Regions from separate parts of the Homo sapiens genome. Here regions 2 and 3 are each linked to region 1. Evidence: promoter capture Hi-C in 16 types of primary human blood cells and fetal thymus (Javierre and others, 2016). All regions are on one chromosome and are shown on one strand. The core of a region is centred on a gene start or on the middle of the fragment in contact, and the rest is flanking DNA. Distances in the headings are between cores, read along the strand shown.

What was found. The method cuts DNA at HindIII sites, captures the fragments that hold promoters and counts their contacts. A CHiCAGO score of 5 or more calls a contact.
Region 2: a fragment that was not itself captured here is called in contact with the fragment with the promoter of XIRP1 in region 1 in 2 of 17 cell types (total B cells and naive B cells); the score reaches 5.6 in total B cells.
Region 3: a fragment that was not itself captured here is called in contact with the fragment with the promoter of XIRP1 in region 1 in 1 of 17 cell types (activated CD4 T cells); the score reaches 7.9 in activated CD4 T cells.

Annotation. Positions count from the first base shown.
Region 1 is chr3:39,191,295-39,193,962 of GRCh38, reverse strand. XIRP1 (xin actin binding repeat containing 1) reads left to right here and starts at 1,368. Exons shown (of 2, transcript NM_194293.4): 1 at 1,368-1,517. RefSeq lists an enhancer at 1,608-2,597. The HindIII fragment of the contact is 686 bases long and covers 1,178-1,863 here.
Region 2 is chr3:39,248,323-39,250,990 of GRCh38, reverse strand. All of the region lies in intron 2 of LOC102724104 (a long non-coding RNA gene), which reads right to left. Among named protein-coding and RNA genes, the nearest start is that of CX3CR1, 30 kb to the left of the region's middle. The HindIII fragment of the contact is 9,853 bases long and covers 1-2,668 here.
Region 3 is chr3:39,140,647-39,143,314 of GRCh38, reverse strand. It overlaps CSRNP1 (cysteine and serine rich nuclear protein 1), which reads left to right. Exons shown (of 5, transcript NM_033027.4): 5 at 1-1,460. The coding sequence ends at 260. Among named protein-coding and RNA genes, the nearest start is that of MIR6822, 3.8 kb to the right of the region's middle. The HindIII fragment of the contact is 8,062 bases long and covers 1-2,668 here.

The sequences.
Region 1 (2,668 bases), core at 119-2,618:
GGCTAGAAAAGAGCAGGGGAAGAGACAAGAGGGAGGGAGACCAGGAAGAGGGGGTTCCCAGATGTCCTTACCCCCATCCCAGCTGACGCTGCAGGACTGACATTGACTACATGGAAAAAGTGAGCAATGTCTGGCATCACCCCCTGGTACCAGAGGGCATTTGGGGAGTCAGAAGGAAGACCTCATGTGCCAGGCCACAGAATGCACCTGCATACCCACAGGCATGGAGCCTGGGCCAGGCCCACCTAGGACAAAACACCTCTTTCGAGTTTTTTGCAGATGGTCCCCTGACATCCTTCACCACACTGGTCTGACTGCCAGGATCTCTTGGGCCTCCTGGGCCCCTCACGCCCTGGTAAGCAAAGGAGGAGGCAGGTGTGACCCCCCCACCCCCGCCGCCACTCCATCTGTGACTGGGAAGCTGATGACTCCAGGGTCAGAAATAACCCCACGGTCAGCTCCCTGCATGCCGCCCTTCCCCTCCCCTCCATTCCCAGAAAGCCTGGGCCCTGAGTCAGAGGGAAGAGTCGAGAAGAAAGGACTCAGATAATCTGGAATGAAAACCATAGAGTCCTGCTGTGGAATTCATTCATTGGGAGGCCGAGGCAGGTGGATTACCTGAGGTCAGGAGTTCGAGACCAGCCTGGCCAACATGGTGAAACCCCATCTCTACTAAAAATACAAAAATTAACTGGGTGTAGTGGTGCAAAGGAGGAGCTGGGCCTGGCCAATCTCGGCCCAGTGAAGAGCTGGGCCTGGTCATTCAGATGTCTTCCCCCCAAATCCAGCTTCATCGGGGCTGTGTTGACCTGTGCTGTGGGGCACAGGGTGGAATGGATAAGAAAGAAGGAACTCTTTAGTGCAGAAGGGAATGGGGAAGAAAGAGAGCTGAGCATCACACTCAGAGGTATCCAGGCTCAGAACAGAGGAGGAGGTGCCCAGCCTGCCCTCAGGAGACCTCCAGTCTCCTGGCACGGTGGGTGGAGACACGTCAGGAAGAGTCAGAGGCAGGGCCAGAGTAGAATGATGGGGGCTCACAAGACGGGAGCAAGCTGTCCAAGGTGTCAGATGCCTCTTCTTAGTCACTCTCTCAAAATAGTCTGGGACACCCCCAACCTCACAACCCAGCTGAGTCACTGACCCCAATCCCCAGATCAGACTTTGGATGAATGAAGCTTCTCCCCCTCTGTTTCCCCTCCCCAGCCCAAAGGACATGTAACTGATTCCCCAGGATGGAAGAGTGACTTCCACAAGACCTAAAAATAACCGAACCACTTAATACTCGGAACATAGCCTCTCCCACCCGCCCCCACCACGGCCCACCCACTAGCCAGCAAGATAAAGGCAGCTGCTGGGGCTGGCAGGGGACAGAGACCTGGAGCCAGGGCAGCAAGAAGGTGTCTGTTGGAGCCAGCAGAACAGAACCAATTTGAACAAGAACCTCCAGAGGAACGACGAACCCTGAGACCACAGCTGCTACAGACCACAAACACCCCATCAGCCAAGAGAGACCCTTGGTGAGTAACCTACCTCTCCATCCTTCCACAGCAAGGCTGGCTTTCACAGCTGGGATCCCCTCTCCTTCTGAAATGGACGTATTAGGAATGGCTCTGAGTAGGGGAAGGAGATTGAGGGGCATGCATGGGAGGAGGTGAGTGGAAGTCTCAGACATAAAGAACCCACAAAGGAGGTAAAGACAGTGTGAGCCCCATGGGAGCTCTCAGAGTGGCTGCCACAGGCCTGAAGCTAGCAGAAAGGATAGGCTCCTGCCAGGCTGGCATGATCCAGAAAGGCCTGGAGTTGTGATTTTTAAAATACAGGTATGGAGTGCCTCAGGCTTCAGGGCTTCCTCCCAGGGAAGCTTCAGGCAGGCCCAGGATCTGGAGGAAGGAGGAACAGGAGAGAGGTGGGGGCAGGGGGCTGTAAGTAGGCCTGAGTGTGCATTGCTAGAACAAGCCCCATGCCTAGTTGTTGTGGATGACACTCTTGGCATATCTGGCCCAGGGATAGCTCCCAGGGGCTGGCCGGAGCCCAGCTCCCTACATATCATAGCCTAAAACCTGGGGTGGAATTCGGACTCTGCCCATGTCCATAGTCTTGCCCAGTGGGAAAGCCCCCAGGGCAGATTTGGGGGGCTCACGGGAGGGAGACCAGATCTGAATTTGCCCAGATGTAAAGACATATGGAGCCAGCTGGGCCAAGGAGGAGGTGACCCGAGGACAGCAGGGGGACCATCCTGAGAGGCTGGCCCAGCCCTAGGAGACCAAGCTCTAGGACAGTTCTTGGGGCTCACCCCACGTAAGTCTGGTCCCAGTTATGAATTCTGTCCTGACTCTACACTTGTCCCAGCAGTCTCAAGCCAGGCAAAGATGGTGGTGGGAAGGCCAGGAGTCAGGAGACATGCTTCAGGCTTTGCTACTGCCTTGCTGAGCCTCCTTGGACAGCTCCTTTCCCCTCTTTGGGCCTCTGTTTCCCTATTTGAACAATAAGGGGTTTAGATTGAGTGACCTCTGAGGGTCCTTAGGCCTGACATCCCTGGACTCCATGATAATAACTGTCTGTGGCCTTAGCAGAGATTCTGGAAATTCCTGGGGGCGGGGGTGGGGTGAAGCTGATGGTGTGCACACACCATCTGCTCAGGCCACCCTGGTGGTGACAGGATGGAGTA
Region 2 (2,668 bases), core at 93-2,592, 57 kb before region 1:
ATTCTGATAGAAGTGTTGAGAATAGAGCTAGTCTTATTTATTTTGAGCCCCCATCATATTCCTCCCAACATCCAGCCTGCTGGAACAAACTGTCTGCTCCCCATGCTCCCACTCTCCCCTGCTCCTCCCTCCTTCAATAAGCCTCCTGTTTTTATTATTTTCCCCCTCGTTTTCTTCCTATTTTCTTTCTTTTTAGGTCTCCTCTCAGATCTGCCCTCCAGCCACAGTCCCCTTCCAGGAAGGGGAAAGGCCACAGAGGGGTAGGCGGAGGGGAGAAATGGCATTGGGCAGGGGGGGTGGGTGATGGGTGGGGTGGGGCACCGTGTGCAGCCCTAAATGTGAGTGAGGGAAGGCCCGAGGCTGATGCCTCCATATGCCTCTGCTTCCCCACACTGAACCTTCAGGAAGTGTGGGCCAAGCAGGAGTCTCCCTCAGAACCACAGCCATCCCCCCTACTTAGAGGACCTGTGCCTGAGCTTCCACCCTGGCTTACTTCCCACAGGAGGCTAGGAAGCCCTTGCTAATCAGCATCCAGCCTTCACCTGTCAGCTCCTAAAGAGAGAAGAGAGCAGAGAAGAGAGCTGAGAAGAGAGCAGCTCTAGGAGCTTCCAACATTTGTTCCTCCTGCCCGGCACAACAAAGATCTATTTTAATTCCCTCTGCTGGCTAGTCACTAGCATAGTGGAATGACATTAATCTCCCTTGTCAGGGGGAAGCTGAGGAAGCCAATACTTCTCCTTTGAGGTTTGAGTTGCAAAACTCTTCCTCAATCTCCAGCATTATAAATCCTGTTTTTACTTTCACAGCTATGTGCAAAATCCAAATAGCACCTTTCTAAAAATGAATAGAAGAAGCCATGTCTTATTCTGAAATTAAGTTTCCGAGGCTCTAAGAGGAGAGGACTAAGAGGGGCTATTCCAGCAGGGACACTGCTACCCTTGATGGGACACGAGAGGAGCTGTGCACCCTGAAGGATGACCTGACCCCCTCCCTTCTATTTCTAATTCAAGGAACATGGCCCAGGATGAGACAGTCTAGGAAATTATGCACACCCAAAAGGGTGGCATCGTCTGGGGAAATGTCAGCATCCCAGCACAAACTGACTCAAAGAAAGGAACTACCATCTGTGTGTGTCTGCTGAATACAGGCATTGTGCTAAAGTAATCTTAGCAATGTTGTCTGCAGCCCTTTATGGCTTTTGGTGATAGGTACCCAGCCACAGGGCAGTCCTGAAAGTCTGAGAAATTAGTCACAGCATCATTCGGGTCACACCATTGTGGTGGCTGTTACCTGCAAGAGGCTAACAAAGAGGTTTTAGGGTATGACTTCAGGTTGACCAAGTCAAGTGCATGATCTTTCCTGAGTTCATTCCTGGAGAGTGTCTATGTGACGGGTTCCTGCCTCAGCCCTCCTGGCAGAGAGCCTGTTTGGCTGAGCTGTCATGGTATCCACTCTGGGTGCTCTCTTCCTGCTCTCAGTGGAGGAGGGTGGCAGTTCATCACTGAGGTGTGAGTGAGCCTCAGATGTTTACGAGGAGGAGTTTCAGGCGCATATAACTCAAAGAAAACGGCTGGTCTTTCGGAACTTGCTAGCAGACCTACCTGCCACCCAGAACTAAATTCAATGAAACTTTATTTCATCCCTTATAAAGCATCTCTCATTTTGTGGACTGGGATTGATTCCTTCAAAAGTTGCCCTTACAGATACCACATCTGCAATGGTCCAATCATAAGGGTAACCACTCTTGGTAAACTATGTACATGCTTTGCTTGAGGGCATTAAAGATCAATATGTCCATGGACTGGCCTCTTCTCAAAACCCAACCACCAGCCAGTTGCCTTTACCATAACTCTTATCCTTAAAAGCCACATCTGATGGCATGGCCATGATGGCTAAGTTGGGTGCCTGATGAATCCAGACAGAAATTTAATAGTAGGCCCAAGTTACAAGATTCCAGTTCTGGAAAGTCAGCCCACGTCCATCTGAAAGAGCCTATGGTGCAGTGGTGACAGGTGGGAGCTCCCAAGGACACTGCCTGGTTTAAATCCCAGTCATTCCACCCACCAGCTGTGAGACATTGGGCAAGCTCTTCACACTTTTTGGTCTCAGTTTCTTCCTCTGTAGAATGAGAGTGATAATAACGGCTAACTTCACAGTGTAAGAATTAAATGAATTAGTATTTGAGAACTTCTTAGACCTGGACCTGGCACATGGCACAAATTCCACGCACACTGTTTGTGGTAGTGGTGAGGGTGATCATTGTTACGTATGTCCTAGCAGTAGAAAGTGGCCCAGGCTGGGATTTGAACATAGTACCACATTACTACCCAGCCACACTCTTTCCATGAAGCTGTTTTTTGTTTTTTGTTTTTGTCTTTCTTTTCTTTCTTTTTTTTTTTTTTGAGAGGGAGTCTCACTCTGTGGCCCAGGCTGGAGTGCAGTGGCGCGATCTCGGCTCACTGCAAGCTCCGCCTCCAGGGTTCACGCCATTCTCCTGCCTCAGCCTCCCGAGTAGCTGGGACTACAGGTGCCCACCACCACGCCCGGCTAATTTTTTTGTATTTTTAGTAGAGACAGGGTTTCACCGTATTAGCCAGGATGGTCTGGGTCTCCTGACCTCGTGATCCGCCCGTCTTGGCCTCCAAAAGTGCTAGGATTACAGGCGTGA
Region 3 (2,668 bases), core at 68-2,567, 51 kb after region 1:
CCTTTGAGTTACTCCAGGCTCTGCCAGATTATAGTCTGGGGCCTCACTACACATCACAGAAGGTGTCTGACAGCCTGGACAACATCGAGGCACCTCACTTCCCCCTGCCTGGCCTGTCTCCACCTGGGGATGCCAGCAGTTGCTTCCTGGAGTCCCTCATGGGCTTCTCCGAGCCAGCCGCCGAAGCCCTAGATCCCTTTATTGACAGCCAGTTTGAGGACACTGTCCCAGCATCTCTAATGGAGCCTGTGCCGGTGTGAGGACCAGGATGTCTTTTCCCAGCCCCAAGAGACCTGTTGCTGCTTTCTTGTAATTATGGGGCTCCCCAGAGTCTGCGTAACAGTCTCCCACTGGCTGGCTCACCCACAGGTGCCATGTGCACACTCCTGGTTTTCAAACAATTCTCTGGATTTATTTATTTGTTTTAACTTTTCTGTGCTGAAGAGAGGACTGGGGGGAGGGGGCTTCCCCTTTCAGCTGCCCGGCCCCCCACACCCACAGCTTGCTCTTCTATCTCCACAACGTGAGCCTGGAAGAGGAGAAAATGTGGCTCCTCTGGAGCTTGGCAGACCACTTTTCGGTCTTTGCGTGATGTTCCTTAGCCCAAAGACGGTGAGACAGGGCTGAAATCAGGTGGCTTCTGCCACCCTGAGCCCTAGACCCATGGGTGGCTAAATCCACTGGACTGTGAAGACTATAATTTATTTCCATAATTTATTTGGAGATTGAGGAGGCTTTGGTTGCACTTCTTTGGCTGGTGGGTAATGCCAGGGGTGGGGTGGGCACAGGCCCTCAAGAGCCCCTTTTGCCTTGTAGTCCTACACCTTGCCCTGCCTGGGCTTTGGTGCAGACTAGGTGTGGATTTGAGCTCTGTGATCTATGTCTGCTGCCTGGCTCCTAGATGGCTCTGTGGGCAGGTGCTGGCCAAGGACATCATCTAGGCAGGGGGAGAGCCTGGGCTGAACAGCTGTGACCAAAACTCCCTTCTGCCCCACCCTGCCCCCTCCACTTCCTGCCCTCTGTTCCATCTTCCCCCTTCCCAAAGGCCACAGCCTTTATTCCAGGCCCAGGGATGTAGGAGGGGGAAGGAGGAAACAGGAAGCCCAGAGAGGGCAAAGGGCCTACCTCGGGGCGCGAACCATGCCCCAGACTATTATCTCAGGGCTTTCTGGGCACTGCACTTCAGCGTGGCCCACCTGCCCATGCCCTGAGGCCAGTTGGCGAGGGGTGGCTCCTGAGGGTTTTTATACCCTTTGTTTGCTAATGTTTAATTTTGCATCATAATTTCTACATTGTCCCTGAGTGTCAGAACTATAATTTATTCCATTTCTCTCTGTGTCTGTGCCAAGAAACGCAGGCTCTGGGCCTGCCCCTTGCCCAGGAGGCCTTGCCAGCCTGTGTGCTTGTGGGAACACCTTGTACCTGAGCTTACAGGTACCAATAAAGAGGCTTTATTTTTAGCAATGTGGTATGTATTTGTGGGGTGGGAAGCAGGGGCAAAGGGGATGGGGGACAAGCCCTGCAGAGGGGAGTATGGACACAGGCTGTGTTGAGGGGTAGGAGTAGGCACACCCAGCATATTGGGCCTCTTTCCAGGCAAGCCAGTCAAGTTGGAGGCAGGAAGCCAGCTGAGAGGCTGGCCAGGCAGATAGAGCAGTTTTTCCTTTGGAGTAACCTGTTCCTCTACAGTGGTGACCTGGGGTGGTGGGGAGGAGCAGCACCAGGGTCTTCTGACATGGGGCTATCTGCTGGGGATGGGTAAGGGCACCCTTCTTCCTACACACCCACACTGAGCTGAGGCCTTGTCCTGAGGGTGAATTCACCAACCTGGGTGGAGGCAGGGTAAGGGCATGTGCCTGGTCAAGGCCTGGTGATGGCCTTACGTAGCAGCTGTGGTCCCTGGGGACTTGAGCAGGGGGGCAGCGGAAAGGGCAGGGGGAAGCTGCAGAACCTCATCCCTCTGCACCAGCCAGACCTGTCTGACCTGTCCCTGGCAGCTCAGCTGGGCAGCAGGCCAGAGGAGTAGGCCACACCCTGCTCTGGGGAGCCCCAGTCTGGGGGCCTGAGAAAGGTTGACTTCCCCCTTAGGAATGATAGTGATTTGTACAAGAGCTGGAAGGAGGAACCGCCAGAGGAGAACTGATTTGGGTCTCCTTGCTCTAATTCTCTGCCTTGGTCTGTACTGGGCTCACTCATCTCTTTGGCTTAACTGGTAAGAGCACAGAGCCAGAATGCTGGGCTTGAATCTCAGATTTTCTGCTACCTAGTGAGGTGATTTGTGCAAATTACTCCCTCTGTGCCTGGGTGTCCTCAATACTACATGCAAACAGTAACACTACTCACCTCATAAACTTGTTTATTTCATATTTACAAAGCCCTTAAAGAGTGCCTGGAACATGCAAGTCCTGTGTATGTTTGCAACTTGCATTGATTTTCATGTTTCTGCCATTCTTTCTCTGAATGTTTAATCCTTTTTTTGCCTGTCCTGTCACCCTTCAGGTATCTGTCTCTTGCCTCTGGACATGCATGGTCATGACCACATGGCCATATCAGTGCCATTAGAGGACTCATAGTTTGGAGTCTGGCCTATGGTGCGGCAGTATGTCCCTGTAACCAGCTTAACTAGGAATAGGCTTCTCAGGTTAGAGTACCCTGGTACATTGAGTTG